Regions from separate parts of the Homo sapiens genome. Here all the other regions are linked to region 1. The links are contacts of gene promoters, found by promoter capture Hi-C in blood cells and fetal thymus (Javierre and others, 2016). All regions are on one chromosome and are shown on one strand. Each heading gives the region's core, a stretch centred on a gene start or on the middle of the fragment in contact. The rest is flanking DNA. Distances are from core to core; before and after follow the strand shown. Region 1 holds the start of HELB (DNA helicase B). Region 2 holds the start of TBK1 (TANK binding kinase 1). Region 3 has its middle 38 kb from the start of RASSF3-DT. Region 4 overlaps RASSF3 (Ras association domain family member 3). Region 5 has its middle 59 kb from the start of GNS. Region 6 holds the start of GNS (glucosamine (N-acetyl)-6-sulfatase).

Evidence for each region. The method cuts DNA at HindIII sites, captures the fragments that hold promoters and counts their contacts. A CHiCAGO score of 5 or more calls a contact.
Region 2: the fragment with the promoter of TBK1 here is called in contact with the fragment with the promoter of HELB in region 1 in 3 of 17 cell types (total CD4 T cells, total CD8 T cells and activated CD4 T cells); the score reaches 8.3 in total CD4 T cells.
Region 3: a contact is called between a fragment that was not itself captured here and the fragment with the promoter of HELB in region 1, in 1 of 17 cell types (neutrophils). The highest score is 6.4, in neutrophils.
Region 4: a contact is called between a fragment that was not itself captured here and the fragment with the promoter of HELB in region 1, in 1 of 17 cell types (activated CD4 T cells). The highest score is 5.6, in activated CD4 T cells.
Region 5: a contact is called between a fragment that was not itself captured here and the fragment with the promoter of HELB in region 1, in 1 of 17 cell types (non-activated CD4 T cells). The highest score is 5.7, in non-activated CD4 T cells.
Region 6: a contact is called between the fragment with the promoter of GNS here and the fragment with the promoter of HELB in region 1, in 3 of 17 cell types (activated CD4 T cells, total B cells and non-activated CD4 T cells). The highest score is 5.9, in activated CD4 T cells.

Annotation. Positions count from the first base shown.
Region 1 is chr12:66,300,330-66,305,241 of GRCh38, reverse strand. HELB (DNA helicase B) reads right to left here and starts at 2,749. Exons shown (of 13, transcript NM_001370285.1): 1 at 2,452-2,749; 2 at 92-511. The coding sequence starts at 2,638. RefSeq lists enhancers at 1,419-1,728, 1,759-1,858, 2,490-2,569, 2,630-2,679. The HindIII fragment of the contact is 5,857 bases long and covers 2,195-4,912 here.
Region 2 is chr12:64,449,566-64,454,477 of GRCh38, reverse strand. It overlaps TBK1 (TANK binding kinase 1), which reads right to left and starts at 2,358. Exons shown (of 21, transcript NM_013254.4): 1 at 2,291-2,358. XPOT (exportin for tRNA) reads right to left here. Exons shown (of 25, transcript NM_007235.6): 25 at 3,353-4,912. RefSeq lists a silencer at 2,018-2,487. The HindIII fragment of the contact is 9,573 bases long and covers 1-3,820 here.
Region 3 is chr12:64,569,478-64,574,389 of GRCh38, reverse strand. It overlaps a transcript of RASSF3 not described here. Among named protein-coding and RNA genes, the nearest start is that of RASSF3-DT, 38 kb to the left of the region's middle. The HindIII fragment of the contact is 1,063 bases long and covers 1,699-2,761 here.
Region 4 is chr12:64,656,498-64,661,409 of GRCh38, reverse strand. All of the region lies in intron 1 of RASSF3 (Ras association domain family member 3), which reads right to left. Among named protein-coding and RNA genes, the nearest start is that of MIR548Z, 36 kb to the right of the region's middle. The HindIII fragment of the contact is 4,513 bases long and covers 623-4,912 here.
Region 5 is chr12:64,698,066-64,702,977 of GRCh38, reverse strand. No RefSeq gene overlaps it. Among named protein-coding and RNA genes, the nearest start is that of GNS, 59 kb to the left of the region's middle. The HindIII fragment of the contact is 6,460 bases long and covers 1-4,912 here.
Region 6 is chr12:64,757,158-64,762,069 of GRCh38, reverse strand. GNS (glucosamine (N-acetyl)-6-sulfatase) reads left to right here and starts at 2,664. Exons shown (of 14, transcript NM_002076.4): 1 at 2,664-2,985. The coding sequence starts at 2,794. LOC124903113 (small nucleolar RNA U13) reads left to right here and starts at 1,097; the gene lies at 1,097-1,202. It also overlaps a transcript of TBC1D30 not described here. RefSeq lists an enhancer at 3,238-4,118. The HindIII fragment of the contact is 13,978 bases long and covers 1,053-4,912 here.

The sequences.
Region 1 (4,912 bases), core at 1,500-3,999:
AAAGAATACTATGCTAGTGGTAACATTTTAAACACTGTAGTTATTAAGTATGTCAATTACACTGAAAGTTGATGATAAAAATCACACTTACTTGTGTTTTCCAGAGGAAGACTCATCTCATTGTCTAGGAACAACTCTTCCTGACCATTCTGTGTAGGCTGCTTTTGATCTTTCCTTCCAGTTTCCTTGTGGAAAGTTCTTAGTGTTTCCCTAAGATTTTCAAAGTTTAGGTTTTTGTAGTTTGATACCTCCTTTACCCATGTTAAAAATTTATTAACATCATCACTGGAGACCTCACACTCTTTAAGAAAGAGAGCACAGATATGTTTTTGATTTGGTGGTGACATATCAGACTGCAAAAAGTAAGACGGAAATCCTTGAACTTGATATTGATAGCTCCTTGATCCCACCACAGGCTTTACTTGTACCTTCACTCTCCACCAAGCACCTGTTATCGGAAAACGTCCAAACACTTTACATGTCTCTTGTGTGTTTTCATCACAAATAGAAACTAAAAAAAAACAAACAAAAACCCACAAAAGTTAACTCTGGAGATTATTTAGAAACCGTTTCCTCAAAGTTTCATCAAACTTACCACTATCTTTAATCTCCCTACAGCACTCTCTAAAGATGTCTGGTAGGGTGCCTGTAACACTGCATTCTGCCTACCTCTTTTTCTGTCTCCCTCCACTACACTGTAAATACTAAAACAGGACACTGTTTCGTTTGTCTTTGTATTCCAAAACGCAAGCACAGTACACAGCAGGTGTCTGCTGTTCCTCTTCTAAAATCAGTCCCCTCTCTGCTACTCTTGACTTCAGCCAATACTGGCCTTCATGCAGTTTCTTTAAAATGCCATGGCCCTTCACTCAAGTTATTCCATCTGCCTTAACTGATCTCCCCTTTACTGTTTACTACATTTACTACAGACCTCAGCTTAACTATCACTTACTTAGAAAAGTCTTCCCTGAATCTCATGTATAAAACCTCTCAAAGCACTATTTAGCATTCCTTCTAAGCATTTAGTAACATTATAGTTACTTCTGTGATTAAAGAATGTTTGTTTAATACACTAGAGGGTAAGCTTCATTAAGACTGCAACCTTGTTATTTTATTTCTCTAGGTTTTCCCAGCACCAAACATGCTAGCCAGTTGATGATACTTTAGAATGACGACTAAGCCCTCCACAAATACTTGAAACTTTTCTGCCTAAATCTGCGCTGTCCACCCACGTGGCTATTTAAATTAAAATGTAATAAAACTTAAAATTTCTCTCCTCAGTTACACTAGCTGGATTTCAAGTTCTAAACAGCTACATATGGCTAGTGGCTATTATACCAGACAGTGCAGATATAAAACACTGCCATGATCATGGAAAGTTCTACTGAACAGCACCGGTCGGCACATTAAAATATTTTAAGTCTCAGTCACAAAGTATACATAACAGGTATAACTTATAGCACAGGAAACTACCTCATAGCACAGGAAACTACTTATACAAGGTTTACCCGAACCACAAGGTTACTAACACCAATTAACAATCATCTGTGCACTGAGGTGTTCCTTGTGTTTCGTTTTTCTTTTTCTTTTCTTTCCTTTTCGTTTTTTGAGATGGAGTTTCATTCTTGTTGCCCAGGCCGGAGTGCAATGGTGTGATCTCAGCTCACTGCAACCCCCACCTCCTGGGTTCAAGCAATTCTCCTGCCTCGGCCTCCCAAGTAGCTAGGATTACAGGTGTGCGACATCACGCCCGGCTAATTTTGTAGTTTTGTTGTTGTTGTTGTTGTTTTACTAGAGACAGGTTTCACCATGTTGGTCAGGCTGGTCTCGAACTCCTGACCTCAAGTGATCCACCTGCCTCGGCCTCCCAAAGTGCGTGAGCCACCGCGCCCGGACTGTTTTGTTTTTCCAAGAAGCTGAGGAAGAACCACGTATTTGACTCCAGGCAATATAGGATAATAATTACAAGTTCTCATTCTATAGAACTTGAGGATAAGTGGTCAGAAGGAAAAATAAAAGTTCCGATTCTGGGTGGAAATAGAGACTCAACATCCACTGTTTCCTTAAGCGTAAAACTACCTTACATTAAAGGTACATTAAATTAAAGGACGACCATTAAAATGAGAATAATTTTAAAAAAAAAAAAAAAAAAAAAGGGCAACCCGCTCGGGTCCCCTTCCACACTGTAGAAGCTTTGTTCTTTCGCTCTTTGCAATAAATCTTGCTGCTGCTCAAAAAAAGAAAAAAAAAAAAAAACCACATAGTATGTGTCCAGTTAAAGTCACTGCTATTATTATAGTCATAATTTTACCCTTGGTAGGATGAAGCAGCTAGACCACTGATAAGCTAAATCTGTTAGCACGACTGGGTGCCTTGCTCAGGGCAAAGCCAGAATGGGAAGCGCTACTTTGGACCCTCCAACCCCATCCCCCGGGCAGACGCCTTCCTCACCGCGGAGGCACCCGGGGAGGCTGCCAGCCTTTACGCCCCCACTGCAGAGCTCCTCGGCGTCGATGAACACGGACTCTTCATCCTCCTCCACGTCGTCGTTTAGGTAGTCGTCGTCCTCCTCCACCAGATCCCTGGGTGGGAGCAGAGGTCCCTGAAGTTGGCGCAGGTACGGACTCGACCTGGCCATGCTTCTCCTGAACTCAACCCAAACAACTCGGGAAAACCCTGGCTAACTGCATGGTCATGATCAGCCAATCAGTTCTACGACTGTAAGGCCATCAACTTCCGGGAACGGCCTGGCGGCCGCCAGCGTACATAAAACCTGAAAGGCAGCGAAGCTCCGCCCCAAGTTTCCAGGAATTGCCGAGGGGAGGGCATGTGGAAGGGGCGGGGCAAGGCGGGTTAGGGGCGGGGAAGGGAGAGCGAGGGGCTGGGAGATGGGCGGGGCTTCCGCTCCTTTTGGAGCCTGGTGCTGGGCGGTGATTATCAGGAAGGTGCTGGGACGAAATCAGCGCTGGGGAGTGACAGGCGTGGCACCTGCAGAACCGCCAGTGCACGGCATCTCCTGCGGAGAGAGAACGGGGAGAAAGTCCACTTCTGCTGAGCTTGAAGAACCTGGAAAAGCAACCCCCACCCCAACCTTCCCAAAACGAAAGTATAGCAGATGCCCTTCTGGAATCGGATCTAGGGCAGGGACCTAGAATTCTGTCTTTTTAATGTACATTCCGGGCTGTCCATTTTGATGCTCAGCTAGGTTTGGACACCACTGGATTAGATAACATTCAAAGTTATTTTTATCCTTTCCTCTGTGAGTACACCCTGGTCTCCCAAACTTATTTAAGCTGGGCTGCTACCTGCTGACAGTGGGGCAAAAGTGTCTCTTTGCAGCCCAGAGTATAGACAGGAATAGGAGAAGGGAAATAGAAGAGAAAGGAACGTGGTTTTAAAAACTATTATGGGGCTATGATTCTCTTACTTGATGAGGATGGTACTTGAAAGTCTTGGTACTATTTAAGAAATACCATAAATATATTACTACATTACTGTATTGATACTGTTTATTTTGGGATTATTCCTGAAATAACTAAACACACACTATTTACTAAATCCAAAAGCACCTGATGCTATATTTAAATATATATAAACGACAACTAGCACCAAATATTTAAGAAAAATGTATAGGAGAAAATATAAAAATTGATTTCTTTTCCTTTGGGTACCAATTGAAAAATGCCCACTTTTGTTGCTTTTAAAAGAAATACTGTTGCAGCTGACAAAACACCAGTGTTTCCAAGGATTGGCTATATGAGGTTGAATTCCTTTGACATTCACATGGCTACTGTTTCCACCACAACATTGAATCTCCTCTGACAAATGTCACACTTACTGTCCTCTTCGTTTCAAAAACCAGTGGATACTTTTCAGCCTTTGTTTTACCTGACCTCTCAGCAGTATTTGATACTGATAAGTATTTTCTTCTTGTAGCATTCTGCTGCCGGGGCTTTTGCAGCTTGCCTTCTCAGATTTTTCTCCTTTCTGGCTATTTACAGTCTTGGACCCCTCTGCTTGCCTGTAAGTACTGTTATTCCCCAAGGCTCCATCCCAAGCATCTTCTTGCTCTATAATCCTTTCCTCAATCATCCTTCACCTACATGCTAATGACTCAGCCTAATCTGATCTCCAAACCATACAAACAACTGCCTAAACACTGTCAGTCACTACTGGATGCCCCTTGGCTACTTAAGACTCAGCATATCTAAACTGCAACTTATCATTGGCTTCCCAAATCTGGGTCACTTATGAGTATATACATGGGATATTCTTGTTACCAACATGATGACTTGGGCACAAGAATCAACTCTAGATCTCTAGATGTTAAACTTTTTTTTCTTTCTCTCTTTTTTTTTGGGGGGTGGGGGGACAAGGTCTCATTGTGTTGCTCAAGCTGGTCTTGAACTCCTAAAGTCAAGTGATCCTCCTGCCTCAGTCTACCAAGGTGCTAGGATTACAGATGTGAGCCACTACACAGCACAGGTGTTCAACTCCTCCTCCCTTTTTTTTTTTTTTTTTTTTGGTACAGGTCTATAGTGGCACCATCTCAGCTCACTGAGGCCTTGACCTCCCAGCAGGCTCAAGTGATCGTCCCATATCAGCCTCTCAAGTAGCTGGGACCACAGGCTCACACCACTAAGCCCGGCTAATTTTTTGCAATTTTTTGTAGAAACAGGGTTTCGCCATGGTGTCCAGACTGGTGTCGAACTCCTGAACTCAAGTAATCTGCCGGCCTCGGCCTCCCAAAGTGCTGGGATTACAGGCGTGAGCCATTGCACCTGGTCACTATATGTTCAGCTTCTATTCATATAGTTCAATTGCATTTTATTGGATAGTGTAGATAGGAATTTAGGATGATAAGAATCTTACTTCTTTACCTATTGTTTTCTCATTCTTTTAAAAAAAAAGT
Region 2 (4,912 bases), core at 1,109-3,608, 1.9 Mb after region 1:
CAGGAGTTCGAGACCAGCCTGGCCAATATGGAGAAACCCCGCCTCTACTAAAAATACAAAAAAATTAGCCAGGCGTGGTGGCGCATGCCTGTAATCCCAGCTACTCGGGAGGCTGAGGCAGAAGAATTGCTTGAAACCAGGAGGCAGAGGTTGCAGTGAGCTGAGATCGCACCACTGCACTCCAGCCAGGGTGACAGAGCGAGACTCCATCTCAAAAAGAAACAAAAACAAACAAAAACAACACCTATTTCTCTTCTAATTTTGTCTTTGTTGATGAGAGTGATATTGTTACTTACCTCCTTCAAATGTTTTGAAAGATTAATTTATGACATAATTTAAGGTGTTTTAAAATAAAGAAAAGTAATAATGTAAAATATAACAAATATAGGAAAAATTACTTTGTTTCCTTCAGAGCAGAGAAACACTAATGAAGACAAATGTTGTCACTGCATAATATTCCCATAAGCTAAAATTTTATCTACACAATCTACACAGAACCTGACAAACATAAAGGAAAGGTGCAAAAATTATTATTCCTGAAAAGTTACGAACTCTTCTGGAATTAATTTAAGGATAGTTTCTCCAACCTCCAAGTATAAATATATAAACGTACCAAGTAGCCTGTATTATCAAGTCTTTAATACTGAAAAGCTATGGATCTATCAAGGTATACAAAGTATCCAAGCTCCACACTGGACTAAAATTGATGTATGCTAACATAACATAAACACTAGTCCCACCATGCCCCCTTAAACCTGCTGTATTGTCATTAAAACATGGATTTTAATATCCCTCCACAGTAAGTTAAAGCAAAAAGTAGTATGCTAGACTAGGTATTCTGTGATGAATTAATGACCACCAATATCCCCAAGCTGGGTTAGGAAAATGCAGAATGGTCAGGGGTCTCAATTTTACCAATCACTGATATAGTAGGATATTTTTATATAATTTTACTACCCATCTAATTTAGATAAACTTTATATACGACTATAGGAAATAAGCAATAAAAATAAGATTCCCTTTTCACAAATAAGGAATACACATTTGCCAGTCATTACATTTCACTCACGATACAATAACAAACGTCTCAACTATCTAACGAAAAACCTTCCCTAATCAATGTAACTGTAAATGGCAAATAGTACCATTAGGTACCTATATGTATGTACCTTCAGGATAATAAGAAAAATATTTATCAGCTAAGATATCTGTTCTCTATGCAAATACAAAACTATGGTTTCTATTTAACAGTAATCACAATAGTGGTCAGGGGAAATGTCTTTTGAAATTATCTTCCAATAACTCCACAATAACATGTTAAAACATGACTCAGCACACCCACAACGTGCTTGCCATATAAATCTTCCCAAATTTTTGACAAGCATATAAGCAGACACTCAACAACTATGTTGCTGATGATGCCGTCTTCAGCCTACTTCCTTACACCGTCCAAAACGAAAGTTACTATTTGTTGAGGGATGAAAACAGGTTTGACGACATGGCCTATGGACAAAGTTCCAGGATTTCTAAACTCTGCCCCTATGTGATTCATACACTGGGGTTTCAGAGTGGAAAAGACCAGTCTTTGGTTATACATTTGGCAATTACTTGGGAGTTGTTTTGAGGCCACCTACTAAGAATACTTGGGATAGAGATTACAAATTAAACCCATAAGCCAGGTAGACGAGGAGCAAGGAAATGTCTGGGAATTCGTATTTCATCGGCATATATTTAAAACATCTTATGCTTCTAATTTCCGGTGTGAGTCAACCTCTGCGGACTGAACATCACTAAAACTCTAAGGAAACGTCTCTTTTTAATCCTCTGAAAAATCAATACATTTAAAAACTGCCCGTTGTGTCGACGCTCGGAAAGAGGGTAGAAAACAGCGAGTCTAAGGGAAAGAGGTGCCCCTGCCTCCCCAGGCAGCCAGGGCCCAGGCCCGGTAACGGAGTCGTCCTCTTTATGCCCAAAGCCGCCGGACGGGATGCAGGTCGAGGACCGGCCGCGCGGCGCGGAGCGGGGATGCAGGTAACAGGGCCCGCGCGACCATTCCACCGGCTACGGCCACCCGACACACACCCCAGAGGCAGTGTCCACGCAGCCGGGGTCCTGGATGGCTTGGCCTCGGGTCGTCCGGGGCTTCTCGGTGCGCCCGCCCCCGCCCCCGCTCTGACTCAGCATCCCAGCCTCCCACAGGGGGCGGGAGCGCTCCCCGCCGGGCGGCGCAGGCCTGACCGACCGCGCCCCGCGCCGCCTTGGCCCCTCAGCCCGCGGCCGTCTCACTTACCCAGCCGGGTCTCCGCCGCGCCACCGCCGGCGGGCTCCCGCGGCCTCCTCGAGACTCAGGACACTTCCGGCTTCGCAAGCCCTGGCCGGAGGCCACGTGACCGACGGCCGGCGCGCCGGTGCGGGTGCGCGTGCGCACGCCTATGGCCCGTCTGGTAGTCACCACAGCCGCGGCGGCAACTGCCGAGTCGGCTTCCGCGGCCACGGTAATGAGGGGGATGTCTGGAGACACCCCGTCCACTGTTGCCCTCGCCCTTTACTCTAAAGGGGAATGAGGAGCCCTGAGCAGCGAACACAGTAATTGGGATTCCCGCAACTGCAAATCCCGCCCCTTCCCCGAGCGCTGGCCGACAGTAGGGCGGACCGACGCTGAGCAAGGGATTACATCCCAAGATTTACAGGTGTGCAGAACGTGGGACACGTGGGGGGCAGGCACAGACGGCCGGCAGAGCTGGGAGGGATGGATTCTATGTTTTAAGGGCCCACTTTGGCTGCAGTGGAGCCAGATTATCGTCTCGCAGTAATTCAGACTTTACATTGTTTTTTTCATTTTCCCATCACCCAGAAATACATTAAATTCTTAATGTAAAAATGTTCATTTAATTCCCTCTCGGTATTTTGGAAAACGGCCGTATTGGAGTATCTAACTCTAAACTTAAGAATTTAAGAACTAAAACTTAAATACTAAAATTAGGTCCTGCAATATTCGTGCAGTCAAAATCTCAAGCCGCTATTCCCAATAAGGAATAGCTTTCTGAAGGGGTCCCTTCTGCCCACGGACAGCACAACAGGCCTTTCTCAACATGAGGGAGCAGAGACCGCTGCTAATCTAGGGCTAAATTTCTGAGTGGAGGGGAAGAGGAAGATGGTGTTTCCCAGAGTAGCAGCAGCAAACACGAATGAATGGGAAGTCATGCGGAGTGGCTCAGAGGCTTTTGAATGTAACAGACCTAGGGTTGCTGTCTCGGCTGCCAATTACTGACTTAAAAGCTAATCTCTTACCTCTCTAAGCCTCAGTTTTATCAAATGCACAATGGAGATAACAAAAGTCCACTCTAATGAATTCTTACAAAGCAAGTTACTTTATTAGCATTTTAAACAATGTATAAGTGATGGAATCATTCTAACAACACATCTATTCACTGCTTACAATTCCAACTAATTTCAGTTCTTTGATATCTAATGACAAGAGCGAAGACCTGTTAAAGTTCCTTCCACCAGTAAAACTCACAGCTCAAAGTTGTGGGAGTGATTAACTGAGCCACAGGCCTTCATTCACATGTTTACCACATTAAAATACCACACAGTGTTTTCTTATAAGGTCAACCAACTGGGAAGCAATTAACATTAGCATTAAGATTTAAACTGTTAGGCACAGGGCTAAATCAGGCATTATATGAAAACTTGTGGTTCCCTAGTCAAGTCAAACAAATCCCCAAATATTTCAGCTTGTAACAGTTTTGTCCTTCCTCTCTTGAGACAATTATTTGAGTACTTGCTTTTGGAAATAAGGTAATTCATGATGGAAGCTTCCTAGCTGTGATGGTGCTCTAGGCAACTTCAGAGAATGAAGATAGAAGTTATGCATGATTATATAACATGAAGAGTTTAATTTTTATTACACACTCAATTTCCATGCCCTGATTTCTCTTAGCTCTATAAACACATGTAAATCTTCTGCAGAGCTTTAAAGAGCTCTGAAAGGGAAAACACCTTTCCATATATGGAATTGATAGCATAGTAAGGCCGTGTGCAGTGGCTTATACCTGTAATCCCAACATTGTGAGGCCAGTGGGAGGATTGCTTGAGGCCGGGAGTTTGAGACCAGACTGGGTAACATAGTGAGACCCTGTCTCTACCAAAAAAAAATGTAGCTGGGTGTGGTGGTGCACACCTGTAATCACAGCTAGTCTGGATGCTGAGGCAGGAGGATTGGTAGAGTATGGGAGAAGTTACAGTGAGCTATGATGTCACCACTGCACTCCAGCCTGGGTGATAGACTGATCTCTATTCAAAAAAAAAAAAGAAAAAAAAAGTATAGTGATACACTATTAATTCCATATATGCTAATATGAGATAGCATCCATATAAACTACTATCAAGTCTTTATGTGCCAGCTACTGTAATAAGTCTTTTCAAGTTTAACTCATTGAATTCGTAATGAGGTTTGAGGTAGCTACCATTATTTCCATTTTACAAATAGGGAAACTGAGGCTGGGAGACATTCTTTAACTTGCCCAAGGTTCTAAAACCAGTTACTGGCAGAACTGGTATTTGAACCTACTTAATCTGATTCTAGAGCCTGTGCTATATAAACTCTTACCCACTATGCTATGCTATTCATTAGTATCCATTTAACAATTACTACTATTGCAATAGCTGCAATTATCACTCCTATAGTACAGGGGAACCTATCAAAGAAACACTCAGCTTTCACTTATCTATTTCTGAAAACATTTTTTATTAAAGTATAAGGTACATTTCACTGATTTATTTTTATAACTGTCAATTTAGTTAAGTATTTTTATTATATGGTGTAAGAAAAATGTTTGAAATGTCTTCTGGAATTAACCGGAACAAAATAAATGTACAAAATTTAGAATAGAATTTTACAGAGTTTATA
Region 3 (4,912 bases), core at 981-3,480, 1.7 Mb after region 1:
CTCCCATTTCTAGTTTGCTAAGGATTTTTATCATCAGTGGATATTAAATTTTATCAAATATTTCTTTTTTTTTTTTTTTAAGACAGAGTCTCGCTCTGTCGCCCAGGCTGGAGTGCAACAGCATGATCTTGGCTCACTGCAACCTCCGTCTCCCAGGTTCAAGCCATTCTCCTGCCTCAGGCTCCTGAGTAGCTGGGACTACAAGCCCCAGCCATCACACCCGGCTAATTTTTGTATTTTTTTTTTTTTAGTAGAGGCAGGCTTTCACCATGTTGGCCAGGTTGGTCTTGAACTCCTGACCTCAAGTGATCCGCCCACCTCGGCCTCCCAAACTGCTAGGATTACAGGAGTAAGCCACTGTGCCTGGCCCAAATATTTTTTTAATCTATTGAGGTGATCATATTTTTCTCCTTTGTACTATTAATATGACACATTACATAGATTGATTTTGAATTATTAAAGTAACCTTGCTGTGGTGGGCAGCCTGTGGGGTGATCTGTGATCCCTGACTCCTGCTGTTGACACCCTGTCTAATCCTTACTTTTGAGTGGGGGCTGGATCTAGTGACTTGCTTCTAATGAATAGAAAATGGCCATGGTGATATGAAAAGTCATTGCTGAGGTTAGGTTACAAAGATTTAAACTTCAATCTTTCTCAGCCCTTCCTCCAGGGAAAGCAAGCTGCCATGTTGTGAAGGCTGCTTTGGAGAGGCCCAAATAGCAAGGAACTGTCTCTGTCCAACAGCCAATGGGACCTGAGACCAATAAATACACATGACTGAGTTTGGAAGTGGATCCTTCCCTAGTCAAGCCTGGGGCATTAAATGAATTTATAAATGGAGGTAAAACATGTAGAACAATTGTGGCACCTAGTAAAAGCTTAATACAATTTAGCAACACTACCTCTGAGTTTGCCTTTTCATATTTGTTAAATGGGGATAATATGATCTATTCCATTGGATTGTTGTAAACATGAAATAAAATAATGTATTAGTAAGCACTTAATGAATAATCACTACTGTTTATCTTAACTGCCTAAACTGCTGTTTAGATGAAAAGTGTTTTTGTTTGTTTGTTTTTAAGACAGGTTCTCACTCTGTCACCCAGGCTGGAGTGCAGTGGTGTGATAACAGCTCACTGCAGCCTTGACCTCCCAGGCTCTAGTGATCCTCCCACCTCAGCCTCAACTAGGACTACAGAGGCATGACACCATGCCCAGCAACTGGGTCTCACTAAGTTGCTCAAACTGGTCTCAAGTGATCCTCCCACCTCATCCTTCCAAAGTGGTAAAATTACAGGCACGAGCCACCATACCTGGCAAGAAGAAAGCTTTTTAAAAATAGGAATTGCATTTTGGGCTGGGTACAGTGGTTCATGCTTATAATCCCAGTGCTTTGGGAGGCCGAGGCAAGAGGATCACTTGAGGTCAGGAGTTTGAGACCAGCCTAGGTGACAGAAGGAAACACTGTCCCTTGAAAAAATTTTAAAAAGAAATTGCATTTTATCGACCTTTGAATTCTCTAACATAACAAAAATAGATGTTCAATTAATGGTTTGGAATTGACACATTCAATCTGTCTTTATATATGTGAAACAAAAAAACAAGCTTCATAGACTTGGACAAGTTGGAAATGTAACCTCTGTTTCTTCATCTATTAAGTAAAGACACTAGACTTACTTTCTGTGATTTCTTCAAGCTTCGTTCGTACATTTATTCACTCTTTCATTAATTTAGTAAATATTTATTGGGCCCTATCATATGCCGAGCTCTGTGCTTGGTGCTGGGGTTCAGTGATGTGCAGAACAGATGTGGCTTGTGTTCTCATAAAATTTACTGTCTGTATTCATCTGCTCAGGCTGCCATAACAAAATACCATACACTGATGGCTTAAACAACAGAAAGTTATTGCCTCCCAGCTCTGTAGGCTGAAAGTCCAAGATCAGGGTACCAGCATGGTCAAGTTCTGGTGAGGGCTTTCCTCCTGGCTTGCAGAAGGCTACCTTCTCACTGTGTCTTTATATGGCAGACAAAGAGGGAGACAGAGCATGCCAGTGACAGCAAGCTCTCTGGTGTCTCATCTTACAAGGGCACTAATCCTATCATGAAGGTCCCCAGCCTCATGGGCTCATCTAAATCGAATTGTCTCCCAAAGATTTCTCTCCCGAATTATCTACATTAGGTGTTAGGGTTTCAACATATAAATTTTGGGGGAACACGATTCAGCTCATAGCATAGTCTAATAAGAAGACATAAATAATCACACACACACACACACACAAGTCTACAATTACAAACTGTGATCAGTGCCATGAAGGCAAAGTTCATGAAGCCATGGGAGGAATTAACCAGGTAACTAGGTCTAATCCCAGGTAAGGAGTAGCTTATGAACGTCATAACCTATGAATTCTAGGATTGGTGGAAGGCCCTTTGTCCTCCAGCTATCAGAAAGAAGAGAATAAAGTAAGTGATTCTGGCACCAGCAGAATCCCAAAATCACTGCTTGTCCCCACTGTCTATACCAGCAAGCCTTACTTTGTGTATGCAGCAACTCATAGCTGGGCATGGCCAAGCACTTGGGAACCTGGGAAGAGAGAGGAGACACCATATGGACAGAATTTGTTCCCCATTTAAATGTATGCATTGGAACAGCACAAAAAAAAAGTGTCACGAATCTCTCTGCAGAACTTTTACGATAGGGAGATAATTGCTGGAAATTACTGTATGGTGCTGTTAACACCAGATCAGAAGAGGCTGCCAAGCTTGGCTTCCTCCCACCCCCATGGCAGCCAAAAAACACAGGTGTCTTAAAGAAAAAAAAGTACAAAGGAGAATGCTGAATGATCAGGAAGCTTATGTGTGCTGAAGCCTCAGCCCAGCCCAGCACATCTCCAGACAGATGTCACTGAACCCACTTTCTCCTTTGCTGCCAGGTCATAACAAGGCTTCCTGATTGTGCTCACTGGTGTGGGTTTGAGGATCATGTTCTCGTTTCCTGTGGCCAGGTAGCCTCATGATTCTCTGAAGTCCATGTCCTGAAAAAGCGACAGCCCCTCTTCTTTGTCTAAGGATCGCAGGGCCTGGCATCTGCAGTGTGTCATTATAATGCACCAACCTGGGCAAGCTTGGAGACAAACTATCATTCTTTTATTTTTGTTTTTATTTTTATTTTTATTTTTTTGAGATGGAGTTTTGCTCTTGTTGCCCAGGTTGGAGTGTAATGGCGCGATCTCGGCTCTCTGTAACCTCCACCTCCCAAGCAATTCTCCTGCCTCAGCCTCCCAAGTAGCTGGATTACAGGCGCCCGCGACCACACCCGGCTGATTTTTGTATTTTTAGTAGAGATGGGGTTTCACCATGTTGGCCAGGCTAGTCTTGAACTCCTGACCTCAGGTGGTCCACCCATCTCGGCCTCCCAAAGTTCTAGGATTACAGGCATGAGCCACTGCGTCTGGCCTTTAGACACTTTTTATCCAAAAATCTGGCTTGCCAGATGACTTGAGTCCCCCAAGGTTAAGAAGTGTCTCCAGTTCGTCCTCTGGAGCAGGGTAGGACACTTCACGGAGCCACGCTGAGATGACAGAACCCTCATGTTTTCAGTGCTACCCAAAAAGCTCGTGAGAAATGCTGCAACTGACATTAATCCAAAAGCAGCTTCGATTCTTTTGGGTATTGTTCATATACGATAGGAGGGATGGGGTGGGGGAAACGCAGGCAGCTAAACAGCTCTTAGAAAGACAATTTTTCCCTTTGTTTTTGGCTGCTGGATAGAAGTATATTTCAATTTTCTAGTCAGCAAGTTAAGCCAGCTGCACACACAGTGGCTTGACAAAGAAGGAGGCTAGTATGAAAAAATATTAAAATGCAAAACACATTTCAGAGGCAGCCTTCTCCTCAAATTGCGTGGTCACAGGGAGAATTCATAAATCAGAAATGAGGTCAAGTGTTGGTGTTGAGTTCAGCTCTGTTTGTCCCTTGATATTATTATTATGATGCCCAGATGAGAAATATAAAGGAGAGAAGGCCAAGCGAAAACATCTGTCCTCCTAATCCATCAGCTGCAAAACATCAGTTTTAGGACAGCACCAAAATAAGCATTCCAAGAGAAGAAATCTGTATAATCAGCATCGGCCCATTTTTTAATTAAATCAGTCATTTACAAAGACACACCCTTGGTTTGGGGTTCAGGTTTCAAAAGAAAATAGTACATCCAGAAATCTATGCTCTAAAGCTTGTGAACTTTATAGGCCAAAGTCTGAGTGAGCCAAGGTCAAATCTGAAACAGCCAAGGCGGAAGGTAGAGTGAGCCACAGTTGTTCACAAGCTTAAGGGGTGAGGAGAAGAAAGTCAAATACATTATAGGCAGACCCGATATTTTTAGTGGGCTGTTTGTCCCCTAAAGATGTTTTTGTTGTTGTTGTTGTTTTGAGACAGAGTTTCACTCTTGCTGCCCAGGCTGGAGTGCAGTGGCACGGCCTCGGCTCACTGCAATCTCCGCCTCCCCGGTTCAAGCAGTTCTCCTGCCTCAGCCTCCCAAGTAGCTGGGATTACAGGCATGCGCCACCATGCCTGGCTAATTTTGTATTTTTAGTAGAAACAAGGTTTCTTCATGTTGGTCAGGCTGATCTTGAACTCCCAATCTCAAGTGATCTGCCCGCCCCGGCCTCCCAAAGTGCTGGGATTACAGGCGTGAGCCACTGCGCCCAGCTTAAAGATGTATTTTTAAGTTGCTTACTTGAAAAGACCTAGGAATACATTTCCTCATAAGAACAATGACTTTAAGATACTCGTATTCTTGGATCAGCCCACAGAATTCCATTAGGGACAGTGTAACTAAAAATCACCTCTGGTCACCCTAACATCCCCAAGGGAGATGGAGCTGGGAGGAACTGGTTGTAACTCATGGCAACGTTCG
Region 4 (4,912 bases), core at 1,630-4,129, 1.6 Mb after region 1:
GGGCTCAAGTGATCCTCCCATCTCAGCCTCCTGAATAGCTAGGACTACAGGCGCCACACTGTGCCCAGCTAGTTTTTTAATTTTTTGTAGAGACAGCCTGGTCTCAAACTTTTGGGCTCAAGTGATCCTCCCGCCTTGGCCTCCCAAAGTGCTGGGATTACAGGCATCAGCCACCATGCCCAGCCCAAGAACCTGCTATGTACCAGGTAAATCAGATCATTGTATCTAAGCATTGTTATTACCACTTACATACGAGCAAGCCGAGTTTAACTTACTCACGGCTACGGCTACCATTTGAGTGAGGCCAGGATCTGAACCCAATGCCTCCAGCACTAGGGCTCTTTCCTTCCACAAAACACCTTCTGACATGTCAAGCCTCAACTTGGAAACAAACCCTGAGAGCACACGTTCACAAGAAAGGGGTGTTCTATTATATTAACATGAACCACTGAGCTCAAGTCTCACAGATTCGGAGGAAAGCTCGTGTGCTCCAGTGGGAAGATGGGAAGTTGATGGGGAGAGAGGGCCATGTGACTCCCCGCCAAATCCTCCAAATTCAAGGGATCACAAGAGGAGGCAGGAAAGGACTACTAAGCACGAGACAAGTCAGCAGAACAAAGCTTGCTTCTGACTCAAAGCAAAACCAACAGTCATCCTGAAAGAAATTTTTTTTCAAAAGCTCCTCCATTTTTTCCAATTTCCAAGTCTTCTGCATTGAGTATACATTATTTTAGCCACTGGGAAAAAATACGTTAAAAAGAAATGTCCCTGCTTTTACAGAGAAAAAGCAAATGATAGTCACTACCTTTTTTTAAAGAAAGATTTTGTGACCTTCTCCTTAAAGGCCAAGAAATTAGAATTATGTCAAAGTATTAATCTTCCTTATGAAACACAAAGTTGTATTTGTCCCTCATAGCACCAAGCCAGGTGCAAGCAGCAGCTTTCTCATAAATACTGGGCAATACAGACTTCTCAGTGTACACACCCTTACATACAATGAGACAGCTCTTTAAAGGTGCCTTTAGAGTGCCTAGTATAGTGGCTCCTGAATGTAAATGGTTAATGATGATGGAATTGTGAGAAAGTAAAAAGAAATACCACTTTCAGTACCATTATTATCTACTTTTTCTCTTCTTGAAAAAACAAAGAATTTGTTTCCAGCAACATTAGGTTAATAATTATTAGCATTTCAGGATGGGCACAGTAGCTCACACTTGTAATCCTAGCACTTTTTGAGGCAGAGGCGGGCGGATCACTTGAGCCCATGAGTTTGAGATCAGCCTGGGCAACATAGTGCGTGCCATATGTGTGCGTGTATGTGTATATATATATACATACACACACACATATATATATACATACACACACATATATATACACATACACACACACACATATATATACACGCACACATATACACATACATACACACACACACACACACACACACACACACACGTATTAGATGAAGTCTCGCTTTGTCACCCAGGCTGGAGTGTAGTGGCGCCATCTCAGCTCACTGCAACCTCCGCTTCCCAGGTTCGAGTGATTCTCCTGCCTCAGCCTCCCGACTAGCTGGGATTACAGGCATGCACCACCACATCCAGCTAATTTTTGTATTATTAGTAGAGATGGGGTTTCACCATGTTGGCCAGGATGGTCTCAAACTCCTGATCTCAAGAGATCTGCCCACCTCAGCCTCCCAAAGTGCTGGGATTACAGGCATGAGCCACCATGCCCAGCAATATTATTATTATTAGCATTTGATTTTTCTACATTTCCTTTCAAATTATGCTATATTCTATTAATAGACTGTTGCAAACCTCTCCCTCCCCTCCCTCAGCAATAGGAAAACAAAGACTCTGATTTATTGTAAAATTCACAGACAACCCTTGAACCAAAATAAAGCAGTCCACAAAAATGGACCCCTCTGTATCCTAAAGCCAACTTTTTGGAGTATGCTCAGACCGCCTCGGAATTCACCACCAGGGCTAGGAACCCTGTTCTTCCATGTTTGTCGGTTTGCTCTGACCTTGTCATTAGTAAGAGAATGAGGACAGTACAGGTTCCATTTAGGAGAAGAATAATCTTATCAGGAAATTACTTTATATCTCAAACTGTGCTAAAAATATCACATCCTTATCCCCACACTTCACCTCTGACTCCACCTCTCTCTCACCTCCTCCCACCAAGTAAAGAATTTATTTAACAGATGAAGGCTGCCTCTGAGAATGATCTGTCTAAAAACACAGGCAGGACCATGGAATGTGTATGTTTGAAACTAGAGTCTCTGGGCTCTTGGTCACTGACCCACTGGACTTTAACATGTCTCTTCCACAATTTGTTCTTTTTTCTGTTGCTCAGGCTGGAGTGCAGTGGCACAATCATGGTTCACTGCAGCCTTAATAAACTCTTGGGCTCAAGATATCCTCCTGCCTCTGCTTCCTGAGTAGCTGGGACTACAGGTGTACATCACCACACCTGGCTAATTTTTTATTTTCTGTAGAGACAGGGGTCTCGCTATGTTGCCCAAGCTGGTCTTAAATTCCTTGAGCTCAAGTGATCCTCCTGCCTCAGCCTCCCAAAGTGTTGGGATTACAGGCGTGAGCCATCATGCCCAGCATAATTCATTCTTCTTTTTGAGATAGAGTTTCACTTTCAGTTCACTGCAACCTCCACTTCCTGGGTTCAAGCAATTCTCATGCCTCAGCCTCCCAAGTGGCTAGGGCTACAGGTGTATGCCACCATACTTGGATAATTTTGTATTTTTAGTAGAGACAGGGTTTCACTATGTTGTCCAGGCTGGTCTTGAACTCTCAGCCTCAAGCGATCCGCCCGCCTCAGCCTTCCAAAGTGCTGGGGTTACAGGCATGAGCCACTGTGCCTGCCGTAATTCCTTCTTATTAAATTTACTTTCACTAGTTTAGACAGTGCTCCATAACCATGCTTACAAAGCGCAAAAACATTGTGTTTGTATTTGAGTCTCCTCCATGGCTGGCCCATCAATTCCTTAAGGCCTTGACTATGTCTCTTAAGTTGCCTTGGGAAACCGTAGTCAGTGGAAAACCTCATGCTGATGGGCTCCTCACCAAAAGCACACAGTTCCTTTGGCACCAGGAGGATCTTCATTCCATGGAGAATTTTTAGGCTATAAACAAGTCTCATTCTTTTAGAGACACTCTAGCTTTAAAAAAAAATATGTCTGTGGGTATCAAGTCTCACCCACGTGTTGATTTTACTACTTTAAATTAGGTTTCCAGACATCTGACGGGCACTCTCCAAGTACTACCTAAATAACACCACCCACACTTCTACCACAGGGGAGCATAACGCAACCTGACAATTTATTTATTTTTTAGAGACAGGGTCTCGCTCTGTCACCCAGGCTGGAGTGCAGTGGCACAATCAACGCTCACTGCAGCCTCAACTTCCTGGGCTAAAATGATCCTCCCACCTCAGCCTGCACCACCATGTCTGGCTAATTTTTTTTGAAGTTTTGTAGAGATGAGGTCTCGCCCAGGCTGGTCTTGAACTCCTTGAGCTCAAGTGATCCTCCTGCCTCAGCCTCCCAAAGTACTGGGAAGTGCTAGGATTATAGGTGTGAACCAACACACCTGGCCCTGACAATATTTTTCAAGCAAATGTATCTTTGCCAACCTTCCTCTGGATTAAAAGTGCCTTGGGGGCACAGTTTTATCCTGCTCCTGTGCCAAGGCACTGGCATTTCTGAAACACAAGAGATGCTCCATGGGTGACTGGTGGAAGGACCAGAACGAAGGGAGCAGGCAGAGACCTGCCCTGGGCATCCTCATCATCCTCCTCACACTCAGAAGGCAGGCACAGAGGCAAGACCACTGAAAAGGGTGCCTGGCCTGGTAGACAATCCAAATACCCTGGTCCCACCCTTTCTTTTCATCAAAGTGATTTTACTACTCTTACTTTTTAAAAATTTACTTTATTGTGATTAAACACAACATAAAATTTACCATTTGAATCATTTTTCAGTATATAGTTATTTGACACTGAGTTCATTCACAATATTGTGGAACCATCACTACCATCCATCTCCAGAACTTTTTCACCTTCCCCAGCTGAAACTCTGTATCGCCCAGCGTGGTGGCTCACCCCTGTAATCCCAGCACTTTGCGGGTGGGCAGATCACTTGAGGTCAGGAGTTCGAGACCATCCTGGCCCACGTGGCGAAACCCCAACTCTACTAAAAATACAAAAATTAGCCAGACGTGGTGGCGTGGGCCTGTAGTCCCAGCTACAAGGGAGGTTGAGGCAGGAGAAAATCGCTTGAACCTGGTTGATGGAGGCTGTAGTGAGCCAAGATAGCACCATTGCACTCCAGCCTGGGCGACAGAGTAAGACTCTGTCTGAAAAAAAAAAAAAAAAGAAACTATACTATTAAACACTGACTCCCTATTTCCCTGTGACTACCATTCTACTTTGTCTCTATGAATGTGGCTACTCTAGGCACTTCATGCAATTGTAATCATACAGTATTTGTCCTTTTAGTGACTGGCTTATTTCATGTAATGTCCTCAAGATTCATCCACATTATTCCATGTCAGAATTTTTCTCTTACTTTAGACTGCTACTTTAATGACAGCCTAAAATGGTCCACAAATTAAGGGACCAACATCAGGAAATCCCAGATATTCCATCAGACGGGCAGGCCCATTTCTCTGGTAGGTTTTTGCCTGATGGGGCTTCAGCCTGGTGTGATTTTTTTTATCTCTGAGTTTATAGACTCAGGCTTGTGTAAACAACTTTCACTGCACAAAGTCAGGGCCACTCAGCATTTCCCCACCACCAGAAGATAAGAGTGTTTGATGTTCTTTATCTTTCACTGCAACTGCTTTGGGAGATCTGGAGAACAGAAAAAGGTAGAGAATCACAACTTTGG
Region 5 (4,912 bases), core at 1,158-3,657, 1.6 Mb after region 1:
TTTCAAAACAAGGGGTATGAGGGAAATACTCTGTGCACAATGATGTATCCCTTCAGCCCCAGAAACCCTCTGTAGAGCTCTAGGATTTGCAGTCAGCATTTGAAAAAATAGGGGGCACTTATTAAAATGGCAGATTCTCAGGGGCCAGTACCAGAGATTCAGATTAAGTAGCTTCAGAGTCAATGAACAGAAAAATCTGCCTTTAAAAAATCAGCCTGGGCAGTGGCTTACACCTATAATCCTAGTGTCTTGAGAGGTCAAGACAGAAAGATCATGAGGCCAGGATTTCGAGACCAGCCTGGGCAACATAGCCAGACCTCATCTCTACAAAAAAATTAAAAAATTTGCTGGGCATGGTGGCATGCCCCTCTAGTCCCAGCTACTTGGGAGGCTGAGGTGGGATGATTGCTTGAGCCTAGAAACTAGAGGCTTCAGTGAGCTATGATCATGCTACTGTGTAACAGAGCAAGACCTACCTCGAAAAAACAAAATTCAGCACCTTCCACAGTTCCGAAGGCAGTCTGTGAAGAAATAGTGTGGTAACCTCATTTTGTCTTGAAATATCTTCCGAAAGATCCTAAACGTTGCCTTTTCCTAACTACCACCTTCATAACAAATAACTTTCCATGATAAAGGGGACATTATTTCTGGCCTCCCCAACACCACTACACCCTTAAAGCCCACTTCCTTCCCCAGCACACACAAACTCCTATACAAACTGTATCTAGATAAAGGCGATAGAACTGGAAGTTTTCTGATGGCTGGGCACAGTGGCTCACCTCTGTAATCGCAGCACTTTGGGAGGCCGAGGCGGGTGGATCACCTGAAGTTAGCAGTTCAAGACCAGCCTGGCCAACATGGTGAAACCCTGTCTCTACTAAAAATACAAAAATTAGCTGGGCGTGGTGGTGGGTGCCTGTAATCCCAGCTACTTGGGAGGTTGAGTCAGGAGAATCGCTTGAACTTGGGAGGCGCAGGCTGCAGTGAGCCAAGACCGAGCCACTGCACTCCAGCCTGGGCGCAAGAGTGAGACTCTGTCTCAGAAAAAAAAAAAAAAAGAACTGGAAGTTTTCTGAAAGCTGGTCTTTTTGTTCCTCAGTTTCTATGGTTGGCCTTACCTGCTCAGTCAAGCATCTTTTATTAATAAGGCCTCGAAATACTCAATCTGACCTAAACAAAATTGACTATGAATGTTTTCCTTGCAAAGATCACATATGCAAGAAAAATGTTTGAAATGTTCACCATCTTTAAAAGAATCTGAAGACACCATTTATAGTTCTGAGTAAAAGGTTTGAATTTAAGCTGTTGCCTCCCTGCCTGCAACAGCAGTAATTCAAGAATTCTAAGTTTTGGCAAGGCACTAAAGTTTGCTGCTTCAGAATTTTTAGAATTTAAACAAATTTTATTGCACCTGTAAATGGAAAAACCCTGTAGAGCAGAGCCTCCCTAGAAAGCCACTTCAGAGACAGGAACCACAGAGGGCTTAATGAATCCCACGTGTCCACAAAGCGTGGCTCAACAGCCGGCAGTACATATGCCAGCAAACACAAACCAGATAGATGCCCTTAATGACCCAGGCCCATTGTAATCGGAACTCCTCGTTTAGAAAGAGAAAAAAATGAACTCTCCTGATTGAAATAACTCCCTCCCCAAAACAAAGTCAAATCCCAATTTCTTTTGAGGTTTACAAAGAGCCCTGATGTTTTGTTGTTTGTGCGTAAATAATACTTAAAGGTGCTCACATTTCTCAGAAACAAGAAGAAGAGAGGAGCTTTCAGAGTTCACTTGATGCCAAATGCAGCCTCAGCCAGACACGTGAGAACCACAATCATCCTTTGGAAACACTATTTAAGATCAAAGGGGTCTATCCTGTACCCTGCTATTCTCATCTCCTGGAATAGGGAAAGACTTGTCAAAAAACAAAACAAAATGAAACCAAAACCAACAGGCAAAAAAACCCCAAAAGACAAAAAACAAAAACCCAAACCCAGATCCAAGCCTGAAGATGGAATAAATGATTTAGCTTCAGAGTTGTTGGTATATAACCCAGCTAGTCCCCACTCCCTCCTATTCCAGCCTTCACCACACCTGCCCCCCCACCTTTATCCTTATATAAAACTTCTTTCTTGAACATTCAATTAAGCAAGTAGTGATTCACACCACACAAGCATATGCTTTAGACTTTGAATACTTACCTCCTAGTTTCTCTCTGCAGAGGATGAGCCTTGTTTGGGGGAATGGTTCCATGAGTCAAACCTTTGCACAAGTTTTGTGGCTCCTATAGCACTCTGTAGTACTGAAGCTGTTCTTCTGGTGGTTCCAGGAGAATTGTCTTACCAACTACAGTGAGACCACTAAGTTTGGTTACCTGCCGTGTTATTTCCCCCATGCAACAGAACCTCTAAATGAAAATACAGGTCTGGGCTGGGCATGGTGGTTGTAATCCCAGCCCTTTAGGAGGCCAAAGCAGGAGGATCACTTAAGCCCAGGAGTTTGAGACCAGCGTGGGTAATATAGCCTGACTCCATCTTTACAAAAATGAAAAAAAATTAGCTGGATGTGGTGGCAGGCACCTGTTGTCCCAGCTACTTGAGAGGCTGAGATGGGAGGATCTCTTAAGCCCAGGAGGTTAAGGCTGCAGTGAGCCGTAATCACGCCACTACATTCCAGCCTGGATGACAAGGTGAAACCCCATCCGAAAAAATAAAAAGAAAGCACAGGTCAGCATTTCATTCTATGTGACTTAGTATAATCACCTGAATGAAATGATAAATGAACCAAAATGGATGAGAACACACTGATATCAACAAACCCCAATGGCACCAAAACAGTTACGCTTCTGGGCAAACTGTCCATTACGGCAATTTAACAGACTTTTGCTCCTTTACTCAATAGGCAATTTAACTGAGAAACTAGAGAGCACTTACAGGAAAAGATGGTAGAGAAACGGGGCAGTGTCCGGCTCTGCCACTCACTCACACAGTGGCCTTGAGCAAGCTGCTAAACCTCAACATGTCCATTTCCACATTTGTGAAAAAAGGGATATGACGAAATAGTGTGATAACGTCACAGGAGAGTCAATGAGTTGATACATATTAAGCATTTCAGAAGAATGCCTAGCACATGGTAAGCACTTTGTTGGCATTGGCTACTATAGTGTAGACCTTCACCACCACCCTTTTTTTTTTTTTTTTTTTTTTTGAGATAGAGTCTTGCTCTGTTGCCCAGGCTGGAGTACAGTGGCGCAATCATGGCTCACTGCAGTACTCACGGCTCACTGGAGTACAGTGGCGCAATCACGGGGCTTGAACCCCGCCTCCCGGGTTCAAGCAATTCTCCTGCCTCAGCCTCTTGAGTAGCTGAGACAGCAGTCGTGTGCCACCACGCCTGGCTAATTTTTATATTTTTAGCAGAGAAGAGGTTTTGCCATGTTGGCCAACCTGGTCTTGAACTCCTGGCCTCAAGAGATCAGCCCGCCTTGGCCTCCCAGAGTGCTGGGATTACAGGCATGAGCCACTGTGCCTGGCCCCTTTTCTTTTTTTTTTTTTTTGAGACGGAGTTTCACTTTGTCGCCCAGGCTAAGTGCAATGGGGCGATCTCGGCTCACTGCAACCTCCGCCTCCCTGGCTCAAGCAATTCTCCTGCCTCAGCCTCCTGAGTAGCTGGGATTACAGGTGTGCGCCACCACGCCCAGCTAATTTTTGTATTTTTAGTAGAAACGGGGTTTCACCATGTTTGGTCAGGCTGGTCTCAAACTCCTGACCTCATGATCTGCCCACCTCGGCCTCCCAAAATGCTGGGATTACAGGCATGAGCCACCGCGCCCAGCCCCCTTCTTTCAATAAAACAAAATACCTAATTAGCGTTATCTGACAGTGTCTCCGAATTTGTCACCAACTGATAACTGTTGTTTCAATAAATATTCATGTGAGCCAGGCACGGTGGCTCACACCTGTAATCCCAGCACTCTGGGAGGCCAAGGCCGGCAGATTACCTGAGGTCAGGAGTTTGAGACCACCTTGGCCAACAGGGTGAAACCCCGTCTTTACTAAAAATACAAAAATTAGCCAGGTGTGGTGGCACACGCCTGTAATCCCATCTACTCCAGAGGCTGAGGCAGGACAATTGCTTGAACCTAGGAGGTAGAGGTTGCAGTGAGCCCAGATCGTGCCACTGCACTCCAGCCTGGGAGACAGAGTGAAACTCTATCTCAAAAAAAAAGGTTTTTTTTTAGTAATAAAAATTGACTTAAAAAAAAAAGTCCTACCTGTAATCCCAGCACTTTGGGAGGCTGAGGTGTGTTGGTCACTTGAGGTCAGGAGTTTGAGACCAGCCTAGCCAACGTGGAGAAACCCCGTCGCTACTAAAAATACAAAAAAAAAAATTAGTCGGGTATGGTGGCAGGCACCTGTAATCCCAGCTACTAGGGAGGCTGAGGCAGGAGAATCGCTTGAACCTGGGAGGTGGAGGTTACAGTGAGCCAAGATCATGCCACTGCACTCTAGCCTGGGTGGCACATTGAGACTCCATCTCCAAAAAAAATAAAGGATAAAAATATAAAAATTCCCAAACATTCTCCACGCACCTTGGGTAGTAACCCAAGTAGAACCCCCAAACCTGATTCCTCTGAATATTTCAGTAGAAAAGCAAAATTATACAGAGCCATAATTTTCTATCACAGTATTTTTATTTAGGGAGCAGCTATGGTACGTGAAAGGCCTCTACCACCTGGTGCCAGCCTTGCTCCTTTCATCAGCCCCTCCAGGGGGCAGTGTAGTAGTAAAAACACTCCCAACAGCAGGCATGGAAGCTGAAACCATGGCACAAAGCCGAGGTGCAGGTGCGCAGAGGGTGGCACTCCATCGTCCCTGTGGTTCCCCAGACACTATCCATCCCATCTGTGTAAGGCAGT
Region 6 (4,912 bases), core at 1,415-3,914, 1.5 Mb after region 1:
AGCCTCCCACCACCTTAAATGCTCATTGCACCCTTTACTTTTCCTTCATAGCATGTCTATTTGTAATCATATACAAGATACAAGATTAGATTGTCCATCTCTCTGCCATTAGACTGCAAATTCCATGAACGAGGGACAATGTCTCTTCAGCACTAGTGTAGCAGTGTTACCGGAAAGGGGTCCTGATCCAGACATCAAGAAAGGGTTCTTGGATCTCGAGCAAGGAAGAATTCAGGACAAGACCATAGAGTAAAGTGAAAGAAAGTTTATTAAGAAAGTAGAGGAATAAAAGAATGGCTACTCCATAGGCAGAGCAGCCCGAGGGCTACTCGTTGCCCATTTTTATGGTTATTTCTTGATGATATGCTAAACAAGGGATGGATTATTCATGCCTCCCCTTTTTAGACCAGAGAGGGTACCTTCCTGACATTCCCATGGCGTTTGTAAACTGTCATGGCGCTGGGTGGGAATTTAGCAGTGAGGACGACCAGAGGTCACTTTCATCACCATCTTGGTTTTGGTGGGTTTTAGTCGGCTTCTTTACTGCTACCTGTTTCATCAGTAAGGTCTTTATGACATGCATCTTGTATCTTGTATCTTTATGACCTCCTATCTCATCCTGTGACTTAGAATGCATAACCATCTGGGAATGCAGCATAGCAGGCCTCAGGCTTATTTTACTCAGCCCCTTTTCAAGATGGAGTTGCTCTGGTTCAATCGCCTCTGACAGCAGCATCCTGAACAAAGTGGGCAACTAATTACACAATTTCTGGCCTCAAATAGTTTATAATCTAACCTTGAAAAAAATAGAAAAGAAACAATTTTACAATTTGGGGCTTCGATACAGATGAAATAGGTTATTTTTTTGTGCAAGAAAGTCTTCCTGGAAGTCTTGAAACCTGAATACAGAAGGATTAGTTATTCTAACCAGCTTGAAAAATTGGCCTAGGCCAAGGCTGTAACCAAGTATTCTGGTTGTCTAGGAACTGCTCTGACCACACTTCCGGCATAATTGTTTCTTGCAGAAAAACTACTTCAGTTTTTTTAAAGCTTCTTTTGCCTTCTGTAGGCTTACTTAAAAAAAAAAAGTATTAAGATCCTTTTGTGGTTCATAAGCCTGATGATTGGGTTTTCATGCTATTGTGTGAGTTACCACCCCTACCTCAAACCTTGTTAGGACTCCGCGCATTACCCCTCTGTGTGAAAAAAACAAAGTAATAAAGGTAATTTTTTTTTTTTTGCATAAGCCCTATCCTTGTACACATCAGGTTTCAACGTGTTTCCATCATTATTTTTACCTTATAGTATAGTGTTTTCACGAGTTTTTTTTTTTAATACTTTAAGTTCTGGAATAGTTTTCACGAGTTTTAAGAGACTCTTCTTGGCAAACAGTTCAACTCAGAGAAAATACTTTTACCAGCAAGGAGGTATACCTTGTTATATCGGTCTGGGGATGTGACTTGACAGTTCACCTTGCCAGGAATATCTCTGTGATTTTTTGTTTGTTTGTTTGTTTTGAGACAAGAGTCTCGCTCTGTCCCTGAGGCCAGAGTGCAGTGGCTCACTGCAAGCTCCGCCTCCCGGGTTCAAGCGATTCTCATGCCTCAGCCTCCCGAGTAGCTGGGATTACAGGCGCCTGCCACCACGCCCAGCTAATTTTTGTATTTTAGTAGAGACGGGGTTTCCCCACGTTGGCCAGGCTGGTCTAAAACTCCTGACCTCAGGTGATCCACCCGCCTCCCAAAGTGCTGGGATTACAAGCGTGAGCCACCGCGCCCACGGTGGGCGGTGAGAGGAGAGGGGCAAAGTCTAATTATTCCAGAGCGACCACAGAAATATCTGGAGCTAGTTTCAAGGGCTATTCCCCGCTAAAGATTACTTAATAATGCAGTTGGATGACCACGTTTCAAGATTTTTGTTCGATCTGCACATCCTCCAACATGTTCCAAGAGGGTGTTTAAAAAGTCACCAAGGACCATTAGGATAACCATTAGGATAAAGCTGTCAGGACATCCCTAAATTGTTTGAAACTACGATGTCTGCTGAGGAAAGAAGAACATAATTAGGCTTTGGAGTTAAGAGAGCTAACCAGTTCCGAATTTAATGTCTGAGCCAAATGAGAATGTTAAGATTTATCTCACAAGTTGTAGAGAAAATTAAAAACGATTAAACATCCGGGCCTTGAATAAGTGCCCGTCGACTTGGGGATTAAATATGGTAGAGTCCACTTTCCTCACCAGCTGATGATAATTTCTGTTATGTACAGTCCTCCTTTCTCTTCCTTTATCGGTTGGTTAGTATTTGCCAACTCTTTCCTGCTTTTCATCTTCTCTTCCCCCCATTTAAATCTTTCCACCAAGCGCTCAGAAACACGTACGTCCTACCAGAACGCAACCCGAGCCTGCGCGAGAGGTACGTACAGGTCTTGACCTTTTCCCGGTTCTCCGCCCTTTTCCCGGTTCTCCGCCCTTTTCTCCGGTTCTCCGCCCTTTTCTCCGGTTCTCCGCCCTTTTCTCCGGTTCTCCGCCCCTTTTCCGCCACTGCCTGATGCCTCCCTCCAGGCTGCGCCAGTCCGCAGCCCCGCCCACGCCGGCCGTCACGTGACCGCGCAGCGTGCTCCGCCCCCTGTCCCTGGCTCACGTGATCGCGCCTAGGGAGAAAACGTCTGACTCCAGCCACCGGCCTTCAAGGCACGGCTTTTTATTCCTTCGGCTGGTCGGCCTCTCGCCCTTCAGCTACCTGTGCGTCCCTCCGTCCCGTCCCGTCCCGGGGTCACCCCGGAGCCTGTCCGCTATGCGGCTCCTGCCTCTAGCCCCAGGTCGGCTCCGGCGGGGCAGCCCCCGCCACCTGCCCTCCTGCAGCCCAGCGCTGCTACTGCTGGTGCTGGGCGGCTGCCTGGGGGTCTTCGGGGTGGCTGCGGGAACCCGGAGGCCCAACGTGGTGCTGCTCCTCACGGACGACCAGGACGAAGTGCTCGGCGGCATGGTAACTCTTCTGTTTCTGCCCCGCCCCTCTATCTCTTGGGCTGACTACCCGGTTTGTTGCTCTCTTTCCCGGTCCCCACCACCCTCCTCCCCGAACTGGCTGTCTTATCCTTGGGTAGGTTTGGTTTTCCCACCTGAGGCCCTTTATGCCGGTGTAAGGGACTGCAATACTCTTTTCCTTTCTGGATTGAGGCACATGCGTACAGCACACAGAGCTTCTAGTCTGGACCGTACTGCTGTGGAGTTTACGTTAATATCTCAAGATAAACATGTGGAGACCAGTGGAGGATGGGTTGAACCAATGAGGATCAGGTGCTGTCTAAGAGCACTCAAGGCCTGATTGTTTTTCTTTTGGATTAGAGGATCACAGACAAGTCCAGTCCCCTTTATGAGGGACCTAGACCACCTCCACGTTTGTGCCTGTATACAATGTCTGTATCTGATGTCAATAAAAATAAGCCTGGGCCGGGCGCGGTGTGTCACTCATGTAATCCCAGCACTTTGGGAGGCCGAGGCGGGCGGATCAGAAGGTCAAGAGATCGAGACCATCCTGGCCAACATGGTGAAACCCCGTCTCTACTAGAAATACAATAATTCTAGCTGGGCGTGGTGGCGCGCAGCTGTAGTCCCAGCTACTTGGGAGGCTGAGGAAGGAGAATCGCTTGAACCCGGGAGGCAGCAGTTGCAGTGAGCCGAGATCGCGCCACTGCATTCCAGCCTGGCGACAGAGCGAGACTCCGTCTCCAAAAAAAAAAAAAAAAAAAAAAAAAAAAAAAGGCCTGAAGTGAACTAATCTGGTAGGCCGACCGTCGAACTATTGAGGGTGTGTGTTGCCTCACAAGAATCAAGAAAATTCAATTAGTGTGATTGAACACCTGACTGTTGCATTAGAGACTGTCAGTGTTTCATTTTCTATCTAATGGGTGTTGTCACAAGACTTCATTTTTTTTCCAGAGTAAATTTTGCTTGTGTATTGCAGAATTATGGAATGTGTGACCTTTGGAAACATCCACTCCAACCCCTTCCCCATGGAGGCCCAGAAAGCAACTTGCCCAAGACATGAGTAGTTGAGGCAGAGTCCTCTGACCCTGGGTTCAGCATTCCTCTCTTCGCTTTAAAACCAAATGCTTTATTGCTTTCTTCGTTTCAGTTCTCTTTTTGCTTTCAGCTGAATGCTGAGACTATGAAATACTCCAGGCAAGACGTTCCTAACTTTTCTTGTGTAGTTACACACCCTAGCTCAGTGTCCTTCAAACCTCTGGTCCCAACCCTTGAGTGAGTTATGAAATCAGTTTAGTGAGTAACTACCAACATTTTTTATTTCCTCTGGAATAGAATAGAATAGAAAAGGTCCATGTGTGTGAGTGTGTGTGTTACACTTGATAAAGGTAATCATTATCTATCTCTCTTTCTTCCCGAGTTGTAAAATATATTTCTTAGGTTGATGCTCAAGAGCTTGAGAGTCTTTTATAGCTGATGTTTTAAGAGGCTTGCATTTTGACTACACATTTCTTCCTGCCATATATGCTTCATTGTCTGTTAGTTTCTACCAAGCCATGTTGACATTGGTCTTAATTTAATTTTCCTCCTACACTTTAGGTTCACTACTCTTCCAACTACTGCACTTACTTGTCTGCTCACAAAATTCCTTTTTTATTAAAAAAAAGAAAATGTGTCCTTGAAGAGTGTTTTGTCCAGAAAAAGCAAGCCTTCTCTAGCAGTGACTTAAGTACTCAGTTAAAAGGTCAGGCTTTTTTAGGTGTTGAAAACAAAATTGATTACTTAAATATAAGGTATTCAGAGTTGTTTCTTCAATTCTTATAAACCACAGCTGTAGTCTGTGTGTATTTGAGGTCTCTTTAGTATGTTAATCCAATTTGCTTCGTTAAGCCAGTAGCAGATTTTTTGAGTCAGGGTCTTGCTCTGTC